5 separate regions of the Homo sapiens genome follow, and all the other regions are linked to region 1. Evidence: promoter capture Hi-C in human tissues and cell types (Jung and others, 2019). All regions are on one chromosome and are shown on one strand. Each heading gives the region's core, a stretch centred on a gene start or on the middle of the fragment in contact. The rest is flanking DNA. Distances are from core to core; before and after follow the strand shown. Region 1 holds the start of SYT1 (synaptotagmin 1). Region 2 overlaps SYT1 (synaptotagmin 1). Region 3 has its middle 240 kb from the start of LINC02424. Region 4 overlaps SYT1 (synaptotagmin 1). Region 5 has its middle 220 kb from the start of LINC02424.

Region 1 (2,700 bases), core at 1-2,500:
GATAATGGACGGGCCCCTCTCCCAGCTGGGCTCCGCTCCCGCCCCTAGCCTGGCGCGCGGTCCCTTCCCCCACCCGCTGAGCCTTCCTGTTCGGTATTTCGGTATTACCAAGCTATAAATTGCCTGAGAGCTTAGAGACAATCAGGTCACCACCGCCCTCACAAGAGAAAAGCTTCTTACTTCCGAGCAGAACGGTTCAGCTGGGAAGAGAGGAAGCAGGGAGAGAATCTATGCTTTAGTCGTCACTGCTCTGGCAAGGGGTCGAGAGAGATGGGGGAGGGAGGTGGCAAAAAATAAAAATGAAAAAATAAAAAAGCATCTCCAACAATGTTGCACTTGACCCAAGTGTACAAACTTATTGGTCGCTGCAATGGAAACTCCCAGTGCACTCTCCACGGCCTGGCAGCCGCCGCTGATGGGTGGAGTCGCGCTCCCGGCCCCACCTATGGGACGGAGCTGCTTCTCCCGCATCTCGGCTCCACCGCACCCTTCGCGGGAAGTCCCCAGGCTTCCAGCAAAGCTCAGCTTATCCCGCCCCCGCTTCCAACCCGGAACCCCAGAAGAACAGCATGATGAGCCTCCGGCAGCCAGGTGGGCCACCTCCCCGCGGCTCAGTTTGAGGACACTTGTGCGGAACCCTTTCACATCCCCACCCTACCCAGCTTTCACAACTCCGCCGGGTTAAATGGCCAAAGACAAACTTCTACCTCTCCTGTCCCCGGTCCCAGCTTTTCAAAAACCCACAGCTGGCGAACCCACACACATCGAAACTCCTAGGTCGCTGTTGCAGTCTGGGCATGCTCAGTATCAGGGTAGGTTTTGATTGAGAGTAAAAAAAAAAAAAAAAAAGCTTTGTATTATGCTCTCTTTCTCCTGTGCATACTGCTTGCTGAACAGCTTGTGGGGCATTCCTGAGTCTACCTAGAGGTTTTATCAGACGCCCTTGATTGTGTCTCCTTGGGATCTGTTCCCCTCTTACTTCACCCCCTCCCCCAACCCGCCTCCACCCCGCTTCCCAGGTCCCTGTCCGCTGTGGGGATGGAGAGACACTAACAGAACTGGGATGGGCGATGTTGGCTGAACGGATCCACCTATTATTAGTGCGCGGGGATTGGCTCCTTGGCGCAGCGTACCCGAGGTGGAGCCAATCAGGATGCTGGGGCTCGGAGATGATGGGCGGCCGCCTCCTCACTGGAGGGATTCCTGGAGAAGCTGCAGTGTGGGGATGCTCTAGACCGAGTACTGCCCCCAGTGTCTTTCCACCTCCTCCTGCAGCAGCGGCAGCGGCAGCAGCAGTTAGCAGCGGCAACTTGAGGCTGCACCCCGGGCAAGTCCCCAGGGTGGTGCTCAGCCGAGAGGGGGGCTTGGCGCCCCGAAGGGGTGTGTGTAGGGTGGGGGCGACCACGTGGGACCAGCTGGTGGCCCTGGAAAACCTCCCACACACCCACACCCACACACCCCTTTTGTGTTGCAGGCTGCCCCTCCAAGAGCGGAGGCAGCGAGAGTACGCGTGTGCCTCGCGCCGGTCCACGCGGGGAGAGCACTGGGGACCGAGACCCGGCACCACCTCCCGGTCCGCCCTCCAGGTAAGGAAGCGGGACTGGCGGCGCGGCCACCTCGGCGGTGCCTATCTGCTCGAATCCATCCCAAAGATTTTCTTCTCGATACACTTGGGTTTTAGTGGTGGGAGTCTGAGACCTAGGGAGGGATCCCCGGGTGGCCTATTGTGAGAAATATGAGACTACATGTGCATCTCCTGGAAAAGCACTTTGCACAGCGCCCGTGATTTAGAGCCTGGAGTTGATGTTGGGCATCCCCCATCTTCTTGCTTCCTCTTTCCTTCTCTTGTTCTCTCTCCTCCGTCCCCCACCCCCAATCTCAATCTTTTCTCTCTTTCTCTCCCACACCTCCCCTCTCGCCCTCCTCCCACCCTAAGCACGCACAGCGTTTCTTTCTCCTCCTGGAGAGGATTGCCTTTCTTAGAGGAAAGAGGGGGAGTGAAGAAAGGAGAAAGATTTCTTTCTGTTGGGGAGAGGGATATGGGGGGGGGGGGGAACGTAAACAAGATAGAATACAAGCTCTGCGAAAATCAGAGCACATAAAGCAATTAAACTGAATAAGGGGAGTAGACAACCAGTCCAGCTTGGGCTGTCAGAGAGAGGAAGCGTCAAGTTTGACTTGATTTCCTCCTTGCAAGAGTCTATGTCTCTCACTTGATTCGTTCAAATGGAACAAAAATAAACCGACAATCCAACCCACTTTCAACTGCTTAATTGCTTTTGCTTTTGAGTGCCAACCATCTGACTTTTCCTGTTTCCATCTGTCCTGTGGGGCTAACAATTTGGTATTGCACATCAGTGTTAATATCTGAACTTTGAAAGCTTTCTTGAGTAACAAAAAAAAAAAAACAATTAAAATAGATTATTACTTTCCTGAGGTTTCTTGGTATGGCCTGTTGTTGGGGGATCAAAAAATGTAAAGTTTCAAAACATTTGCAAGGGACAACAATTTTATAGGGAGGCTTGGATTTCTACTTTGAGAAAGCTAATCTTCTAGTTAGCTTTGTGTACATGTTGATATTCACTTTCTCCAGTATTAACCCTTTCGTGAAATAAAGCAACTGTTTAACTTTTGTATGGAAGCTACATTTGTGTAGAATTTTCACTTTATTCTACCTTTGTACTATTTGCATTTTATTGT
Region 2 (2,700 bases), core at 29-2,528, 300 kb after region 1:
AGAAATGCAATTGACATCAAAATAGGTATAAAAATACCTACCTCCCTGGGTCTTGTGAGGATCAAATGAGATGATGTGTATGAAAGACTCCAGATGCTATACAAATGTTGGTTGGATTATACGGGAAGCTTTAGAGATGCCTTTGCACAGTGGAAGGATCCTTGGACTTGGTAGTTGAAAAAACTCAGTTTTGCTAGCCATGTTATTTTGAGTAAATCATTTAAATTTAATTCCTCTGTGTCATACTTTTTACATGTAAAACGAGGATATAATTTCTACCACAGTGCTGTTTTGTAAATCACCTCAAACAAAATGAGATCTATAATGAAAGTGCTTTATAAACAATGAAGCATAATGCTAATAGTGTAACAGATTGTTAATAGAGTACTTATTAAATATGGCATAAGTAAAGGAATGACATTTACAACAAAATAAATACAATTGTTTAAGTGAAAAATCTATGTAGAAAGGATTGAGAATTGAACTGAGTTCTTCTGTTGAATACTTACCATATTGCGATCTCAGATTCCCTATGAAAAGGACAAAGTCCTGCCCTTGAAAATGTTAGGATTTCAAGAAGACGTAGGGCATACTTTGGGTATCTACAAGATATAAAGGAAATAAACCCAAAACTAAAATTTGCATTATAAGCCACTTTTATGGTTAAATCTCATTCCTAGCCTGAATAATACTTTTTATTGAGAATCAGTTGTATAGAAAGCATTGTCTTATGTCCTGATTTCTGGGAGAATGTGTGTGTTTGTGTGTGCTTGTGTGTAGTGGAAATGGATTTGAAAGGTATACTACAAAAGAATGTAAATGTTTACTTCTATTCCCTCAAGCTTATATACTTGAGAAACATAAAATTTGATAATACGAAGAATCACAGAATAAATATCAAATGACTTACCCTAGAATGTATTACTGAAACTTATTAAGCCTACTATGTGGAAAATGGTCTTTAATTATTTTTACCAAAGAAACAAGAAGGTGAAATGTCAGGGACTGAATATTTGTGGCTATACTTTCCCCCAAAATCTAATAAATTGCAATTAAAACATTAAGAATTAAGAATAATTATGCTTATAGTGTAATACAGCGGTCCCCAACATTTTTGGCACCAGGGGCTTGTTTCATGGAAGACAATTTTTCCCTGGGGGATGCAGCGGGCTGGGAATGGGGTGGTTTGGGAATGAAGCTGTTGCATGTCAGGTCATCAGGCATTAGATTCTCATAAGGAGCGTAACAACCTAGATCCCTCACATGTGCAGTCTACAATAGGGTTCACTCACCACAGGGTTCACAATCCTATGAGAATCTAATGCCTCTGCTGATCTGACAAGAGGCAGAACTCAGGCAGTAATGCTCATTCTCCATCTGCCACTCACCTCCTGCTGTGCGGTCCAGTTCCTAACAGGCCATGGACTGGTACCCATCCCTGGCAGGAGTTTGGGGACCTCTGGTCTAATACATATGTATGTACTTAACTTCTTTGTCTTCTAGTTATTCCTTTAGAAATGTAAAGAGACAGGGAGCTTAAGAGAGACAACTAGATCTGGTTAGAGCCTTATTTGAGTGAAAGTTGTCAGATTACCTCCCTAAGCCTCAGTTTCCTCATCTGTGAGGGAAGTCCTAACTCAATGGGTTGTTGTAAAGATTCAGCATTATAATCAACACAAGTGAACCAAAACCGTGTCAGGCAAATGCTTGGGTCTCAAAAAAGTGAGAGTTTATTAAGTGTCTCAGTAATCTTTATTCTTAATAAACCCACCAAGTGATAGTTTGATCTGGCAAAGATGGGACGGCACACCCAGCACTAAACTTAACTATTCTCTTTCACACAGAATATTGCTAGTTTTTACTGGTGACATTTTAATTTTAAATTTACATTTTAAATTTTTCTGATATAGTCACTGGGAAGACAAAGGACAGAGTTTGTTACAGTGAGAAAATAACACAATTTTCTGAGGTCTTTTTCATGAAATGTTTTAAACTGGAGCTTTGTCTTTGGAAATTCTTGCTCTTGGACATAGTTATCATGTTGTTTGAGGTTAGCAAGGATGTGATTTTGAGGTCACAACCAGACATTGTTTACTGAATGTGTATAAGATAAAATGAGATGAGAGGGTAATTATCTATAGGTTTGCCTTAATTAGCAGATAACATTTTCTAATTTAACGAGGCCTCAGTGATAATAATCAACAGTCAAGTTTCTAAATAGCTTTCCCATATCTTTGTGGCCATTAATTCCCTCATCTTTAAGTTTTCGACATTCTTTTCAAGGCATCTGGAACACTTGAGCAGCAATTTTCCCTGTTTGCAGCAATCACCAGTTGAATGCTTTTGTGAATGAGAAATTAAATGGGTTTTCAACAATGTAGATAGTTTTAAGTGAGAGTCCCATTGAAATTATGGATGAATCAAGGGACAGCAGGAAGTCTGTGATTTTCTCCATTTGCAAATGTTTTTCTAAAAAATGCCATCCTAAGAACACTTTACAGATATTAACCCATTAATTCCAGTGCCTCATTTTTTTGAAGTAATTCTTATTCTTTCTTTATGGCTCCAAAAATTCACAGAAGAATAGTTAGCAAAGCAGCAGTCAACTATCCACACCAAATTTTATAAACTGCATTAAATGTACTACTATTCACTGGAAAACTCTTATAAAATATATACATGCATGACTTACAAAAGTAT
Region 3 (2,700 bases), core at 82-2,581, 270 kb before region 1:
GAATGTAACATTTTAATAAAGCAGACATTTTATCTAGTCACATGCATACCTCTTCTCACACATGTCCGCTTTGATCTGCAAAATAAGACTTGATGGCCAAAGGAGGATTGCTGGTCAAAATGTATCACTTATAACCATCAGTTCTTTAAGAGGTACTTAGTTATATAAAATTTAATACATCAAAAACATATAGCTAATGTTAGGGTGACAGATTTCAGACATACATACCAAGTTTCCTATTTCTTCTATTACAAAGATCAAAATAGACACTTAATGCATCAGAATCATCTGTTTGCAAACAAGTAAGAGATAGAAAATTAAAAGTATATTTAAAGTGCCAAGATAATTGTGATTGCCCTTAAACGGGTAAAATATTAAGCCTTATAAGAATCTTGAAAGAAGCGTACCTTTACGCAGGTATTCATTAAACTAGCATTTTTATTTCATAATGTATTCAAGCTAATACTATGTCTGACAGTGGACATACTTTAGAGACATCAAAACAGTTAAAGGACTTAGCAGTTTTGATAAGAATGGGCTGAAATCTTCTATCATAGCAAGTGTCAAAACATTCCCAAAGGGTTCTCATCTTACTTGAGAAAATAAGATTTGAACATATGTTAATGAAGTGTTCACGTTCAAGCCATTAGGTGTTTGAAGTACTCTTCCTTTGCAGGGAATTGTTGTAGATCAAGTTAAAGCAATATTTACCCTGTTATTTAGATGAGTGTTCTTTCAAGGATCACCTGTAGATAAGTGATGATAGAATTGACTGTTTTTAGTTGTTGTGAAAGAAAAAAGGTAAATTGAAATAGAGTACCTCAAAATACTGAATCTGAATTTTAAGAATCTAGTCCTACTTGTTCTGACAGTTGTGAAATTTGTAGTGATTGTTAATAAGGTCATCCTAAAACAGATACAGCTTTTAATGTTGAATGCAGCATTTGTAACTTGTACTTACTATATATTAGACAAAGAGTGAGTTTATGCCTTACATGTTCAGGTTGAGTAAAATTTCAAAACAACTTTTATCTTGTATTATCGTTCTGTAATCCTTTTATTTTTATTTAAAAAATGCATTCCATGTTAACATTTAAAAGACTCATAATGGATATTCTTTGGGCTGTTTGTACAATTTTTATTGTATTTTTAAAGTATTCACAATAATTTAATTACTGTACTTACTCCCTGTCTCTGAGTTAGGAACAATGGTGGACTGATTTCCACTCTGCCCTCTATTCTTCCTTCCTCTCTTATTTCTTCTTTTCTTCTTACAAAGTGTTAGGGAATACCTACTTTTTACCACAAACTGTAATAGGTGTAGGGTTATTGACTATAATGCAAACACTGTTATTTAACTTCTTGGAACTTACAGTGCAGAAGAGATAAATTAAAAGTTATGATGCAATGCAAATATAATTCTCATGTCATGTATATTATAGAGGCAAATTAATAATCAATACAAGTTGTAGCTACCAATTAATCAAATTAATAGCTACCTATTAATCCACTAAATACTCTCTAAATTAGCTTATCCGCTATATTATTTTGTTAACTATTATTTGAAATCAAGAGAAACTTAAAGTCAATTTGCCTTAAAAAATAAAGGGTTAAATTATCCCTAATATAAAAAGTCCCGAGGGAGGGTGTATTTCCACCAAGGCTCTCACCTCTGCTTTCTCCTTTGCTAGCATCCTTCATGCTGCTTTTGTTCCTGGCCTCAAAGCATCACATCAGACAACCAGAGATGAGAGGAACATTTTTAGAAATCCTAATCAATCTTTGTAATTCTTAGTAGTCTAAGCTGTATTACAAATTCATCAATAAAATGCAGAGCACAACAGCAAAGAAGAGAGGTTCCCAGAAGCTAATATAGGTAGGTACTTTTGACAGAAAAAAGGAGGCAATAGAAGTTGAAGAGGCTGTCAAGATCCATTCTTTTCAGCACAGCTCGCAGTTCACTGAACATCAAATAACGTCACGGTACAGTCTACCTTTGAAGGTGGGAAAATGAAAGGCAATACTTTTATAAAATATTTGGTTTTATGGTACTCTTATAGAAAAAATAATATAGTTATAAAATATTATATTACGTGTTTTCCAGGAAGTTTTTCACCATTTTTAAACATTCATTTTTCTCTTCACAATTCCTTGGCAGGCATTGTAAGTAGAGAAACTCTGACACTGAACTATTAAAACATTTACACAAATTCAAACCTGGTTGATACCAGTGCCTTTCATGATTGCATACTTTTCACATGTTTGTATATGTTGCATATATTGCAACGTGTTGTCATATATTAATATACATAAATCTCATATATTAATATATATAAATCTCATTGCCACATCTTAATAAAAACTGGAAATGGAGAATCACACCCAGTGCTTTATTCATGTTAAGTGAACAATGTATTTTTCTTGTTGATGCTGATGTTGTTGTTCTTGCTTGGTCATTAAGTGACTGCTTGACTTTTACCAATTTTCTTAATTTCTGTGTGCCTCAGTTTCTTAATCTCAAAAATAGGGGTATTGAGGCCCTGCTATTAAACTAAAAACATTGCAATGAGAATAAATTATATTAACAGATATAAAGTCACATGCACAAATAATACACAAATACGAATTGGTAATGTTCATATTTGTGTATTCATATTCAAATTCAAATTCATAGTCAAATAAAATAATAAAGAAGCTCTA
Region 4 (2,700 bases), core at 141-2,640, 280 kb after region 1:
GTGGACAGGAAAAGCAGAGTCAATAACACCTATTAGCAAGGATTATGCATTCAGCAGTGTATATAAAATACTGGGTTCTTTAAAATATAATAGAGAACAGAGCTATCAGTCCCAGGGCTCAAATCCCTTCCCTGACATTTTTCAGTAAGACGCTTCCTTTTTTACCCCACCGCCCAGAAGGGCATGTCTCAGCAGTTTCCTCAGCCCACATTGGGATAAGGGAAAGAGGCTTCTGATTTTCTGTGCAAGGACCCTTTCCAAGAGCATCCAGATGCCAGGCATCCATGGCCCAGGATGTACAATTCCCATTTACAAACAAACTGGGCTAGACAGCACCAGGAGGTAGATGGCTCTTGCAACAAGACCCATCATCTGGGTCAGCCAGTGCAACTATTGACCCGACACTAGGAAGACCAGAATACCTCTCAAACCTCTTCACACCCTGGCTCATTTCGTTTAAGAGACTTATTTCCCAAGAAATTGGCGTGGGATAAGCTTCTAATAAGCTTTCACTTTAAATTACCAATAATTCTGTTTTACCTTTTCAGGGGAGAAATACTCTTGAATCCATCTGCACTGTCAAAATCAAAACACTGTTTCATCCTATTTAGCTATAGCCTGAAGGCACTTTCTAAATTTTGTGTCATGTTAGTGTTTAACACATTCAGAGCTTGGTACCCTCAGTAACGAAGAGTTTCAGAGTCTGACCTTGCCCTGGACAATTTGTTTTTTTCCTACAAACATCATAGAAAGAGCAAGAACCTTGGTATTAGCAACTTTCTAAGCTTCAGTTTACCTGTATAGAAAATAAAGAACATCACTTTACTCCATAATATTGGAATATTAATGAGGATCAAGCTAGATAATGCATATAAAAGTACACAGGACAGCATCCAAATTACTACTCTTGTTCATTTCTACTCTTCCCTTAAATGCTTTAGATGGTAACAAATCCACTTAATATTCTGGAATGTGTACTATACATGCTTAATAATATATTATCTAATTTTATAAATCTCTATAGCTTTGACTCATCTTGATTAAAAACATATTTTTCTAATTTTATTTAGAATATTAACATTTTTAAAAAATATGAATTAACAACCTTTGTCATTTTGTTATATGTGAATTTTAAAGATCATAATCTTCATAACTCATCAGAAATATTTAAATTAATATTTATTTTTATCTGATTCTTTCTATGACTTTAATAATTTTTTATCTAATTCTTTACATGCAATAATTAGTAATAGCTAACAAGTGTATGGTATGTATGCTTACAATGTCCAAAACACCATGACCATTTTTAATGATTTTACATATTAAAATTTACTACTCATGACAACAACCCAATGAGATTGACATCATTACCAACAGCCTAGTTTTGCAAATGTGTAAATTGTGGCACAAATGTTTTATATAACTTCCCCAATATAACACAGCTAATTTTTCAAACCCAAATAGTTGGACCCCAGAACCCAAGATTTAAACATAGTGGTTTTTTTTTTTTTTTGTTTGTTTGTTTGTTTGTTTTTTGAGACGGAGTCTCGCTCTGTCGCCCAGGCTGGAGTGCAGTGGCGGGATCTCGGCTCACTGCAAGCTCCGCCTCCCGGGTTCACGCCATTCTCCTGCCTCAGCCTCCCAAGTAGCTGGGACTACAGGCGCCCGCCACTACGCCCGGCTAATTTTTTGTATTTTTAGTAGAGACGGGGTTTCACCGTTTTAGCCGGGATGGTCTCGATCTCCTGACCTCGTGATCCGCCCGCCTCGGCCTCCCAAAGTGCTGGGATTACAGGCGTGAGCCACCGCGCCCGGCCTAAACATAGTGTTTTAAGTCCTGTGGAGGAGAGGGAAAAGCAAAAAGCTAACAGCACAACAACAAAACAAAAACCACTTCAGACTTCAAGGAGTTTTTAATCATGAGAATGTACAGCCTGTGTCCTAACCATCTTTCAGCCCTAAACATATTCCCACAGACAGGCAGCACATTCATACACCCTCAGACAACACACTACTCCGTCCTCACACTTTAGAGTAGAACGCAAGTTACAAGACAATGTCAATTAATGTTGTTGTAGGAAACAGTCCATTGGAAGGACTGGAACTGTCAGCTGTATGTCAGGCTCTTTCCCTGTACTGTCTCATTCAATCTTCGTCACTTTAGAGAAAACTGAGGCCTAAGAAAGTTCATTACCTTTCTGAAGACCACACAGATAATTATGAAAGTTTTAGAATTCAACCCTCATTCTGACTTCAAAGCCTACAACACCACCACACCACAGTACAGAGGCCTTAACCCAAACTTCCAGTTTGAGAAGACAATGCTTTGAGTAGTGTGAAATGCTAATCTTCTCCAGACATTCACCTCAGAAGCCAGGAGACATTAATAATTAAACAAAAAGGAGTGTCTGTACTTCAACAATTCTGGAAAATAATAAACTTTAAAACATGACCTTATGAAATGATATGGTAGAAGAATAAACAGAGGCCATTGAAGTTCATCAAAGGATGTTTTCTGAACGTTTTTAGATCTGACCTGGGTTTTAAAAAAATTGTGTAAAGTGTCTACAAAGTAAAGGAGATAAAAGGCTAAACAGCATATATCTACTACTTTTTTTTGAGATGGAGTCTCACTCTGTCGCCCAGGCTAGAGCACAATGGCACGATCTCAGCTCACTGCAAGCTCTGCTTCCCGGGTTC
Region 5 (2,700 bases), core at 113-2,612, 290 kb before region 1:
GTTCAAATCAAAGTCCCACGGCGTACTTGTTTCTTAGAAGAGGGAAGTATCTGTACTGAGCACTGTGGATTGTCCAGTGGGACTACAGCATGTTTTATCAGACCTCTATTATGTACAGGATTCACAGAAGGCTGGAAACATAATACATATAAACCACCCACATGGGTGCACGCACACACATTCACCTAATCATGTAACAATCTGCTTTCATTTGGCAAAAGCAAAACTATTCAATGGTAAAGACTGAATGACCTCTCAGGAGACAAGCTTTGGAACATCATTTATTAATATTACTGTGACATGCTCAAAAATTGCATGTCTTTTATACTCTATGGGAAATGTGATCAGATCATAGCAATAAGAAATGGGATTTTCCCTATCACGACTGCATGCTCATATTTTTCTTGTTTTACTTTAGCTCTTAATTATATTTAACATTTGTTAATACATGTTCACAACTAGGTAAGGCCTATACCCTGCTGAGATATACTATATCTGCTCTTGCCTAGCAGGATTTCTCCTGACATTTCAAGTAAACTATGTAGATGTATTTTCTACTTTTTAATTTTGGGGAAAATTATAGGAAGGCTAATGTATTGTGGTTTGATTCAAGATATGAATAAAGAAAAAGTCTCCCAGAAAATGTCTTGGTTAAAAACATTAAAATGACTTATTGGTTGAAATTATGATTAGGAAGGGTTGAGCTCAGCTGTGATAAGTGCTTTTTAATAATTATTCTAATAAACTGCACTACCCTGGGAAGTATGGTAATTGGGTTGGAATATTATTTGTAGTCCTGATTAGCATTCTGGAAATAAATAAGGAGTCGTGAGCAAGGAGTGAAGCTATGGAGACACAAACAAGCTCTAGGACCACATAGCTAGAGAGTGAAAATGTGAGCAATAATCTACAAATTTGCATACAAGACATCACACATAAAAATATTGCTATCTTGTTCTTCTCACTGATGGAGTGTAACATTGGTTCCAAAAATGAAAAGTCTGCTAAATTCCTCGTCTGAAATCAAGTAGATAAATCACTTATTTCACTTTCCTCCTGGCCACCTTGCTTGAACTGCAAGAGTTTCCCTTCATATTCTTGGTCATTCTGGGACCTTTCTTAATTTGAGGCTACTGTCTAGACTCCTCCTCTTCCTGGTGAGCTTCTGCCCTGATCATTTCACAGCCGCCTCCATTCTTCGTTCAAGTCTGGCATCACTGTCATAGACACATGGTGGTTTTCCTTGGCCATACCGTCTAAGCATGCTTCCCCTGTCAGCTTCTGTGCCTCTTCTTTATTAGATTCATTAGCACAATTCATAATCATATGCTTATCTATTTATTTATAGGCATACTCTCTTTTCCCATTCTAAGTTGCAAGCCTAATGACAGTCATTATATTAAAAATCCCAGTATTTAGTAGGCGCTCCATAAACTGTTTGAGAGAATAAATGTGGAAGAATGTAAATTATGAAAAATTTCAGAGATTATGAGATTCTCATTTATCAACTTCAAGATTTTTGGTAGTTTTCAGAAATTTTGTGGGGTTTTTTGCTCCTTGATTGGCAACTTTATGTGTATGTATATGTGTGTATTCATATATGTGTTTATACATATATATGTGTATGTATATGTGTGTGTTATTTATATATGTTTCACACACACACACACACACAACCCATATCTCTCACTATATACAAAAATAAACCCAAAATGGATTAAAGACTTAAATGTAAGCCCCAAAACTAAAAAAGTCCTACAAGACAACCAGGAAAAACTCTTCTGGACATTAGACTAGGCAAATAATTTGTGACTAAGTCCTCATAAGCAAATATAACGAAACAAAAATATACAAATGGGATTTAATTAAACTAAAAAGCTTCTGCACAGCAAAATAAATGATTAACAGAGTAAACAGACAAACTACAGAATGGGAGAAAATATCTGCCAACTATGCATGTGACAAAGAGCTAATAGCCAGAATCTACAAGGAACTCAACAACTCAACAGGAAAAAAAACAAAAACAATTAACCCCGTTCAAAAGTGGGCAAAGGACAAGAAAAAAAAACGAAAACAATTAATCCCGTTCAAAAGTGGGCAAAGGACATGAACAGACATTTTCCAAAAGAAGACATACAAACGTCCAACAAACATGTTGAAAAATGCCACCATCACTGGTCATCAAAGAAACGCAAATTAAAACCACAATGAAATAACCATCTTACACCAGTCAGAATGGCTATTATTAAAAAGTCAAAAAATAACATATATAGGCAAGGATGCAGAAAAAAGGAAATGTTTATGCACTGTTGGTGGGAATGTAAATTAGTGCAACCTCTATGGAAAACACTATGGAGATTTCCCAAAGAACTAAAAATAGAACCATCATTATACACAGCAATCCCACTGCTAGGTATGTACCCAAAGGAAAGGAAATCATCATACCAAAAAGATAACTGTACCCATATGTTTATTGCAGCACTATTCACAATAGCAAAGATGGAATCAACCTAACTGTCTATCAACAGATGATTGGATAAAGAAACATTTTACATATTTTTACCGTGGAATAGTTCTCAGCAATGAAAAGGATAAAATCATGTCTTTGAGACATGAATGAAACTAGAGACCATTATCCTAAGTGAAATAACTTTAGGAAACAGAAAGTCAAATACTGCATGTTCTCACTTACAAGTGTGA

What was found. Contacts are between HindIII fragments. The study calls those that stand out against the background at their distance.
Region 2: a contact is called between a fragment that was not itself captured here and the fragment with the promoter of SYT1 in region 1, in 5 of the 25 tissues and cell types used here (dorsolateral prefrontal cortex, hippocampus, lymphoblastoid cells and 2 more).
Region 3: a contact is called between a fragment that was not itself captured here and the fragment with the promoter of SYT1 in region 1, in 5 of the 25 tissues and cell types used here (dorsolateral prefrontal cortex, mesenchymal stem cells, mesendoderm cells and 2 more).
Region 4: a contact is called between a fragment that was not itself captured here and the fragment with the promoter of SYT1 in region 1, in 2 of the 25 tissues and cell types used here (dorsolateral prefrontal cortex and mesenchymal stem cells).
Region 5: a contact is called between a fragment that was not itself captured here and the fragment with the promoter of SYT1 in region 1, in 1 of the 25 tissues and cell types used here (dorsolateral prefrontal cortex).

What each region holds. Positions count from the first base shown.
Region 1 is chr12:78,863,524-78,866,223 of GRCh38, forward strand. SYT1 (synaptotagmin 1) reads left to right here and starts at 1,251. Exons shown (of 11, transcript NM_005639.3): 1 at 1,251-1,586. RefSeq lists a silencer at 35-94. The HindIII fragment of the contact is 3,235 bases long and covers 1-1,615 here.
Region 2 is chr12:79,166,658-79,169,357 of GRCh38, forward strand. The region is part of intron 3 of SYT1 (synaptotagmin 1); the gene reads left to right. LOC124902973 (a long non-coding RNA gene) reads right to left here. Exons shown (of 2, transcript XR_007063386.1): 1 at 1-2,700. Among named protein-coding and RNA genes, the nearest start is that of MIR1252, 250 kb to the right of the region's middle. The HindIII fragment of the contact is 6,622 bases long and covers 1-2,700 here.
Region 3 is chr12:78,597,725-78,600,424 of GRCh38, forward strand. No RefSeq gene overlaps it. Among named protein-coding and RNA genes, the nearest start is that of LINC02424, 240 kb to the left of the region's middle. The HindIII fragment of the contact is 6,803 bases long and covers 1-2,700 here.
Region 4 is chr12:79,144,240-79,146,939 of GRCh38, forward strand. All of the region lies in intron 3 of SYT1 (synaptotagmin 1), which reads left to right. It overlaps LOC124902973 (a long non-coding RNA gene), which reads right to left. Exons shown (of 2, transcript XR_007063386.1): 2 at 1,895-2,700. Among named protein-coding and RNA genes, the nearest start is that of MIR1252, 270 kb to the right of the region's middle. The HindIII fragment of the contact is 6,517 bases long and covers 1-2,700 here.
Region 5 is chr12:78,576,843-78,579,542 of GRCh38, forward strand. No RefSeq gene overlaps it. Among named protein-coding and RNA genes, the nearest start is that of LINC02424, 220 kb to the left of the region's middle. The HindIII fragment of the contact is 5,047 bases long and covers 1-2,700 here.